2 separate regions of the Homo sapiens genome follow, and region 2 is linked to region 1. Evidence: promoter capture Hi-C in human tissues and cell types (Jung and others, 2019). All regions are on one chromosome and are shown on one strand. The core of a region is centred on a gene start or on the middle of the fragment in contact, and the rest is flanking DNA. Distances in the headings are between cores, read along the strand shown.

Region 1 (4,599 bases), core at 1,048-3,547:
TTAGAGAGACAGTTAATAACTGCCTGGCCATCACATGATGGTTACCTGACTTTCCTGGTGGGGTGTGGGGGGAGCCCTCTGCTGCCCCACTCATGCCTATCTAGCTACCTACTGTAACAAAAGCAGGTTTCGATATGGCGGTACAACACTGATCCTGAGGACAGCTACTCTGAGGAGTAACCTGGATCCATAGCAGACTTTGATGAGCAAAAAATAAACCATTATCGCTTAAGCTTGGGAGACTTTGGGCTGGTTTGTTACAGCAGCATAACCTACACTACCCTGGCTATTACAACCATTGTATTTCCATTGCCTAGCATAAGGGCTGGCGTAAAATAAGTGATTAAATATGCTCTGACTAAATTAATTAATAAATTAAAATTTTTAATCAGCAATTAAAATGAACTATTTTAATCAAAGAAATTATTTCAACTCTATCCTGCGTACAATAGAAAAGTTTTGGAAATTTTCACTGATTAGTGTGTAGGGGTCATGATTCTTTGAGTACCAAACCATTATCTTAGATATCAAGGTTAGAGTTGCACATGCTTCGCACTCCAGAAAGACTCCTTCAAGTTTTGCTGAATTTCAATTGAATAAATTTTTTCTGTGAAGTGGTCTTCAAAAACCTATATTTCTGCCATAGAGTCACTTACTTAACCTGCCCTATTTAAAGGGGCTAATGCCTGATAGAATGTCGCTGCATAACTCCATCTGTGTGTGGTCCCTGCATCCATGACAACCAAAACCCAGATGCAGAAATTGTTCCTAATCACATAGATTACCCTAGAAACCGGAAGGGCCTTGAAGTCAAAAGCATTCAGAGAACATGCTGAACAAATTGAATTTGCAGTTTATCTGGCCAGGGAGGATGGAGAGGGGATGGGCACTTGGTCTGAGTATTTTTTGTTTCTCATTCCAACAGAAATTACTAGATTTACCAAAACAAAGAGAAAAAAATATGATCCAAATTTAATCTGGTTGTGGAAGTGTGAGCAAAATCTACAAGTGGTAGTGTGATAGAGTCAGGCAGAGGAATTGACCATAGATAAGGTGCTCAGGACTCCTAGAGTCAGCTTCTGGTATGTGAGAAAGAAGTGAGAACAGAGCCCATGGCATATGAAGAAGATATTACAGAAAAAAGAAAGCTGCCTTCCACGCAAATCATTTCTTTACAAAGGCTTGTTAACTCCTGCAGTGCCCCAGCTCTAGTGACTAGGGGACCAATAGGTTCATTAATAACAGAATTGGGAGAGAACCTGGCATCTGCTTTGATCGAAGTGTGAGAATTAAGCAAGCCTAAAGTGTAGCAAGAGCAGGGAGGGAACTGAATGAAAGGTCAGTTCTAATCTGTAGGCTTTGGAGAAGCTTTGGGCTCTTGAGAGGGAGTAGAGTACAGAGGCTGAGCGGGGTGCCTGGGCAGGCATCTTATCATTACTTGCGAGTTGTGTGAACTCGGGCAAGTTAAACTTCTCTGTGCTTCTACTTTCTCCCCTGAAAACGAGGATATAATCTCCAAGGATTGTTGTGAGAACTAAATGACTTGGTTGATTCCTGAACAGCACGTTGTCCAGTGCCTAGCACATAGCAATCACTCAGGAAACGTCAGCCTTTATTATGGGCCTAGTGCACAAACTATTCTTACCAGTTATGCGACCTTGAGAACATTGTCTTCTCTGTGCCTTCATTTTCTCACCTGTAAAATGGAATAATAATAATTCTTAGAAGGATTCATGAAACAACGCCTAGTAGGGTGTCTGGCTTAGTTATCCCCCCGACAGTATTTTCTTCTAGTAAGAAGCTGAATGCAGCGGCAGACATCCTGGTTCGGGCCCCAGGAAGCTCAGCCGGGTTTAATGTGGATGAGGGTTTAATGATGTACACGCAGAAGTGTTTTGACAAATGAAGAAGGTCCTCATTCTTGGAACATGTGCCGGTTCTCCGAGGGAACTCCTAAAATGGCATAAGGTCACCTTTTTAAAGGCTGTAAGCTCATGTAGGAAAAGCTGAGCTAGATTCCTAAGGGCAGAGATGTGCTCACATTTCTTTGCATCCCTAGTTCCCAGCACAGTGCAAGGCGCTGCAAACATTTGCTGAACCCAGGGTCTCGTGTCTTGACTGTCCAGCAGAGGCCGCTCTGGGCCGGGGCTCTCGGGACCTGAGGGCTGAGAGAAGGAAGGCCAGGGGGTGGCCCAGTCATCGCCGCGGGGCCCGGGTGGGAGGGGTTTGGCAGCGGCAGGCGCGGCGGCGGCGGCGGAGGCGGAGGCGGCCCCGGGCTCGGGCGGCTGGGATGGAGCAGAAGAGCGCGGAGCACCGGAGGGCACGCAGCTGACGGAGCTGCGCTGCGTTCGCCTCGTTTGCCTCGCGCCCTCCACTGGAGCTGTTCGCGCCTCCCGGCTCCCACCGCAGCCCACCCGGCAGAGGAGTCGCTACCAGCGCCCAGTGCGCTCTGTCAGTCCGCAAACTCCTTGCCGCCCGCCCCGGGCTGGGCACCAAATACCAGGCTACCATGGTCTACAAGACTCTCTTCGCTCTTTGCATCTTAACTGCAGGTAATTGGCGCCATCCTCCCGGAAGGGCAGGTCGCGGGGTGGGCCCCAGTAGCTAGCGCGTGGTCGGGGCTGAAGCTAGGAGATCCGGCAGTGAGTCGCCGCGCGCCTCCGGGTGAGTGCGCAGGTGTGTGCGCACTTAGATTTGGGGTGACGTGCACCTTTGGCGGTCCCGAACCGTACTGAGGGAGGGGACGATGGGGTCCTTCCTGCCGCAGCCCGCGCCCGCACAAACTCCAGCTTTGTAGAACAGGTGGCTGTCTTAGCTGCGTGTTCGAACCCAGAGTGGGCAACACGGACTGCGCCTCAAGGCTTCTCTTTCTTCACCAGGGTTTCGGAGCGCACTCTGCCAAAGTACGGGACCAGACTTCTTGTTGCCGTTGGGCCCTGGAAGGGATGAAAAAGCCGGGGAAGTGGGGGTGGGAGGTTCGCATCTGGGAAGGCTTCAGCAGCGGCTGCGCGCCTGGCGGGGCTGGTTTGCTTTCTCGAGTCTTGGCGGTCTCTGATCTCCGGCGTCCCTTCCTAGTTATGCTTAGGATGATGTGGCACTAACAGCAGCGGCCCGGCCTTGGTCAGGCTCGCAATCGTCACTGGGGGTAGCAAGGCTACCTTCTGCCCCAGAACTCCCCAAAAACGTATCCCATAGAAGAAACTATTAACTTGGCTAAACTAGCATCCTCTCCCCTCCCCCTGCACCACCTCTGAAAGGCTTCGTAGGAGCCACTCTCGGGTTTCGGGACCACAGACGGCGACGACCTCTGGCAGCGGGGATGGGGAAGAGGGGAGCCAGATGACTGAGCTCGGCTTGGCGGGGACCGGGGAGAGATTCAGAAAGACGCTTTGAATCTAGAGTTCAGGTACCTATTTTTTCCAGAAAACGTCTCCCGAAAAGGGACAACTGGCTGTGGATATGGTGCTGCTGGGAAAAGTAGCCCGACTGCGCGGCCACTGGCATTTTCAGTTTAAATGTGACCCAAAGTCACATAGCGCAAACCGATTCTACTCGTGCTTTAGTCTGTATATCCTCCCTCTGAGTTCGTCGGGTTCCTACAGTTGTGGACACGAGTCGTCGCAATCCCTTGAAAAGAAGCTAGCGGTTTTCAGGCAGCTCACAGTGGGTAATGCAGTTATAAGGAAAAGTTTCCCAACTTGAAACTATAGCGTATTTTCTCTACTTAGTGAACGTCCGTCTGAGAAAACCTCTTTCTCGCTGGTATCTCGGCACGGTTTGGAGACGCGTCCGCGGACAGTTCCCGAATACTCGCAGGCGGCTTTGGCTGCCCAGCCTCGGGCTGAGATGAGAGAGCCTAGGTCCGGCAGGTGCAATAGGCAGCGGAGCTCCCGGCTGGCTGCGGGTGGTAATTCCTGTAATCCTCAAAGCAGGAGATGCTTACGTAATGACACGGAAGGTACCTTTACTTCTCCTCACTCAAAAATCTTTTCTTGAGGTTCAGAAACCCTTGAGTGAGTCAGTAGAGAGGTTCGTTTGCAAATTTGATTTAGTGGCTTGTCTTGTTTATTTAATCATTTCCTTTTTTAAACAGCTCTGGCAGTTGTCAAAACCGGGATTAACCCTAACAAACAGTGTATTGTAGCTTCCCCACCCCCACCCCAAGAAGCTCTTTTTTCTTTTTTTTTTTTTTCTTTTTTCTTTTATTCAGCGTTACAGTTTAGCTCCGCTATTCCGGGAGGAATATCACCCTTGACCCACCGCTAGAGCGAGGAGACTGGTGGGCCAGGGACCGGCTGAGCACCACTCCTACCCCCACGCACTAATTAGGATCAGAGCCCAGATGGTCACAGCCTTCCAGCTGTGAGGCTCGAGACTCAGGAAGACATACTGCCTCATTTCCCTAGTTATGCTTCGATATGCATATCCCAAGCTGAAAATGATGAAGCTAATGGACACTGCATTCCCCCTGAAGTTTGTGCCTTTGAAGGAATCTCTTTAAGACGTCAGTTTGTTGTTAGAGCTACTTTGCAATAAATCGTCCGAAAAAATAATATAAAAATTGGCATAAATACCTCATGAGATTCTTTGCACCTTAAT
Region 2 (4,599 bases), core at 765-3,264, 1.1 Mb after region 1:
AGTAAATTGTATAAATAACATTAAAATCATTAAGACGTTGAGGAATAATGCATGTTTTAATGCCATTGAAAAGAGTTCCAAAGTGATGATGAATTTTTTGTTTGTTTGTTTTAGACCTGCTCTATCGCCCAGGCTGGAGTGCAATGGCGTGATCTCGGCTGACCGCAGTATCTGCCTCCCGGGCACAAACCATCTTCCCACCTCAGCCTCCTGAGTAGCTGGGACTATGGGCACACACGTCCACAGCCAGCTAATGTTTTTGTATTTTTGGTAGAGTTGGGGTTTCGCCATGTTGCCCAGGCTGGTCTCGAATTCCTGTGCCCAAGTGGTCTTCCCACCTCAACCTCCCAAAGTGCTGGGATTACTGGCATAAGCCACTGTACCTGGCTGACAATGAATTTTAAATAAGGATGTTTCTGAGTTTATGTTGTATCTCTCTCTCTCTCTTTTTTTTTTTTTTTTTTTTTTGAGACAGAGTTTCGCTCTTGCTGCCCAGGCTGGAGTGGAGTGCAATGGCGCAATCTCAGCTCACTGCAACCTCCGCCCCTGAGTTCAAGCCTTTCTCCAGCCTCAGCCTGCCGAGTAGCCTGGATTACGGTCGCCTGCCACCATGCCCAGCTAATTTTTTTTGTATTTTTATTAGAGACGGGGTTTCGCCATGCTCACGCCTGTAATCCCAGCACTTTGGGAGGCTGAGGTGGGCAGATCACCTGAAGTCAGGATTTTGAGACCTGCCTGGTCAATATGCTTTATCTCTTTCTGGGACTTTGACATAAGAAGAGATTTCCAAAGGTTGTATTCTGCTAATGTAGTCTGGTATTTGAGAATGAGATATATCAATGCTCACATTTTATAAGGATGACTTCATCCTTGATATGTGCTACCCCAAACATTGCAGTCGCAAGTGCATGCACAGAATAAGGGCCAGTTTTCAGTGACTACCGTATCACCATACGGAACTTCTCATGCTTGAGAGAGCCACTGGTAGCCATCTACCTTTCCTTTCCTTGTCAGTATAAATTTGGGGGATACAAATATAATTTTGTTACATGGATATATTGCATAGTGGTGAAATTAGGGCTTTTAGTGTATCCATCACCAGAATAATGTACATGGTACCCATTAAGTAGTTTCTCATCATCCACCGCCCCCAACCCTTCCAAGTCTCCACTGTCTATCATTCCATACTCTATGTCTATGTGTACACATTATTTAGCTCCCACTTGTAAGTGAGAACATGCGTGTACCCAATTTCTTTTTTCCTTCTTTTTTTTTTTTTTAAGACAGAGTCTTGCTCTGTCATCCAGGCTGGAGTGCACGGGCACGATCTCGGCTTGCTGCAACCCCTGCCTCCCAGATTCAAGCAAACAGATTCAAGCAATTCTCGTGCCTCAGCCTCCCAAGTTGCTAGGATTACAGGCCTGTGCCACCGCACCAGGCTAATTTTTGTATTTTTAGTAGAGACGGGGTTTCACCATGTTGGCAAGGCTGGTCTCAAACTCCTGGTCTTAAGCCATCCACCTGCCTCAGCCTCCCAAAATGCTGGGATTATAAGCATGAGCCCCTGCACCCAGCTGGTGTGTACCAAATTTCTGACTTTAAAGGAAGGGCAGTTATTTGTTCCCTGAAAGTTGAGCACAAAAAGAAGAAATAAGCTTTAGTTTCCAGTGATTAAGGATTTGAAAAATAGTTACTGGTAGTTCAATTTACTTTGTTTTTTAACTATGCCTGTTCATGCTGATCACGTACAGGTTATCTCTATCTTGTCACTGGAATTGGATTGTTTCTCATTGGCTTAATTAAATTTATTGCACAGGAAGAGTCTTCCTGGAACATTTAAGCTATACCTGATTTATTAACTACAGCTCTCTCATTTTCTTATAAATTAATTAAGAGTTTGATCTACCATTCCTCTTCTGAAAAGAAAACAGTGTTTCTCTACCTTTTTGGTAGAAGAGTTACTAAAAAAAAACTAGCTATTATTTGTCTCTTTTTTCAACCTGGCAAAGCACAGTATATAAATATTGTTTGTTTTATCTATAACCAAATTTAATTGCCTTGGAATATTACTTTTTGCCAAGTCTACTGCCAAGTTAATTTTATTAGGGTATAATTAACAGTCGTCAAAGAAAAGCTACTTAATTTATTTCCACAGGAATTCAGAAGAAAAAAAGAATATGGGTTTAAAACCAATTACTTTCCTTTAAAATTGTAGGTAAAATTCAAAGTCGCATATGTTAAAATTTAGAACACAGAAGTAGAAATGATCAAGTTCTGCCAGCTCATTGAATAGACTAACCCTCTTTTCCATGTCCTCTGTACCTCTGTCAGAATGTTTGCTGTCATTTGTATGTATGTGAGCCAGGAACAGTGGGTTGTACAAAACAACTTCAGCATCACCATAAACTTCAGAGAAATCATGTTTCTCACAACAAAGCAGCTCTGTGCATGGCCTTTAGTTGGCTGCCTGGAAAATGACTGCACTCGACAACTGCCAGGTCAATGTAGACGTTCATGTTAATTTTTCAAGTTGGGAAACAACATGCCTATTGTTAGGGGATAGAAACGTGAGAGATTAAGCAATGAGCAACTTTACAAGCGACTAACTGAAGGAAGCTTGATTCAGTAAGAAGGGAGAAATAGTAGCTTCACTTACCATTATTAGTTTATTGCTTCTGCTACTCAGAGAAGCTGGAGGAGAGGAGAAAATAGATCTGGTCGATATTATTTCAGGGCTAGTTGGAAAGAGAATAAATGCACAAAGGAGCTTGCTTGGAGAGATGACCCCTGCATGTGAATGTTAGAAGAGCTATGTCTGCAAGGTATGAAGCTTCATTGGATTTATTTGTATTTTTAAAAAATAGAATATAGTAAAATGACCATTTATAAGGAGTATTTCAGGACACATCATTTGCCAGTTTGAACTAAGTGTTATTAAACTTAATGTTTTAAATAGATATAGTTGAGAGTGCGAATATAAAAAAAATAGGACAGGAAAGATGTTTTTTGTTCTAGCTATTTTATTTCTTATATAATCTTGATACTTAAATTACTTTCTTTTGGATTCAAAACAAAAATAATACTTTTAAAATATTTAGGCTGGGCTTAGTTGCTCATGCCTGCAATCCCAACACTTTGGGAAGCTGAAACAGGAGGATCACTTGAGCTTGGAAGTTTGAGACCAGCCTAAGCAACATAGTGAGACCCCCATCTCTACTAAAAATTTGAAAAATTAGCTGGTTGTGCTGGTGTGCACCTGTAATCCCACCTATTTGGGAGGCTGAGGCTGGAGGATCACTTGAGCCCAGGAGATCAAGGTTGCAATGAGCTATGATCATCCACTGCACTCCAGGCTAGGCTACAGAGTGAAACCCTGTCTCAAAATAAATAAATAAATATTTAGGCTATGTTTTCTAAAATTTTATACATTGTGCTGAATGCTATTTTCCTTGTAATGAAAAGCCAATAAAACATTTCTGTCAATTTTCTTGTTTTCTTTCTTTTTTTAGAGACAGTCTTGTTATGTTGCTCAGGCTGGACTCAAACTCCTGGCCTCAGGCAAGTCTCCTGCTTTGGCCTCCCAAAATGCTGAGATTACAGGCGTGAGCCACAATGCCTGGCCTCTTGTCATTTTTCTAAGGCTTTCCTAACATCCTGGTTTCACCTTTGAATCTACAACCTAGCTTACTTTCTGTGTTTCTTACTTCCCTGTTCTTACTTTCAGTATGAGCAGTAAAAGGTGTAGTCAGAGAAATGTGGCTCACTCTTCAGCTCTGAGTGTCTACCTCTCACCTTGTATTTGTGCAGTTGGTGGCTGGGTATGTGGTGGTAACTGGATGAGTGATGGAGTCCAGAATAATTGCCATCATTTGTTTAATGTCTCCCATGTGGCACGTAATGTACATAGTGTCTCACTAGTCCTCACAATAATTCTGTAAGAAGGGGCACTGTAAAAAGGACATTAGTGGCAATTTAGAGAAGAAGAAAGTGGGCCTTTAAGAGTTTATATAACTCCCCCAAATCACTTAACACATTTAGTTAAGAAGCGGGGTCAGAGGACAGCAGCAATGAAAAACACAAGAATTCCTTTCTGAGATGAAACGGGAGTGAAAGGCATCTCAAAGGTCTGACAATGTAATTCCCAGACCCAAGCCTCCCTGGAAAATAGAAAATGCAAAAGAAGATTAGAGCAGAAGACTAAATGTGGAACAATTTGGGATAAATAAAATCTGAGGGTCCTGGTGAGAAAGCAATTAAGAAAGCTAGAGAAGGTGTCTAGAGCCCCATTTAATTTACATTTCATTGAATAACAGGAGAATGATTATGTGAGACTTGTTAAAACTTGCATTTTGTTGGTAAAGTTTATCCTCTACTTCCCCATTGTGATTTGTAGCAGTAACCCTTAGAAAATTTCAGACCAGCCAATGTTTATTCCAGGGACTGGGTAAAAAGAGAGAAGCCTGTGTTATTTTCTGCATTTAGCTGTGATGAACAGAATCTCTGATCTGAGGCAGTAACTGATGTCAGTGCAATAGGTAGCCAGCAGGTCAACTCCTGTCCCTAAGGATTTATACCAGATGAAGGTCTTGTGACCTTCCA

Evidence for each region. Contacts are between HindIII fragments. The study calls those that stand out against the background at their distance.
Region 2: a fragment that was not itself captured here is called in contact with the fragment with the promoter of PARM1 in region 1 in 1 of the 25 tissues and cell types used here (dorsolateral prefrontal cortex).

What each region holds. Positions count from the first base shown.
Region 1 is chr4:74,930,819-74,935,417 of GRCh38, forward strand. It overlaps PARM1 (prostate androgen-regulated mucin-like protein 1), which reads left to right and starts at 2,298. Exons shown (of 4, transcript NM_015393.4): 1 at 2,298-2,552. The coding sequence starts at 2,510. RefSeq lists silencers at 2,132-2,441, 3,022-3,071 and an enhancer at 3,182-3,231. The HindIII fragment of the contact is 8,311 bases long and covers 801-4,599 here.
Region 2 is chr4:76,051,453-76,056,051 of GRCh38, forward strand. It overlaps a transcript of ART3 not described here. Among named protein-coding and RNA genes, the nearest start is that of CXCL11, 18 kb to the left of the region's middle. The HindIII fragment of the contact is 3,657 bases long and covers 187-3,843 here.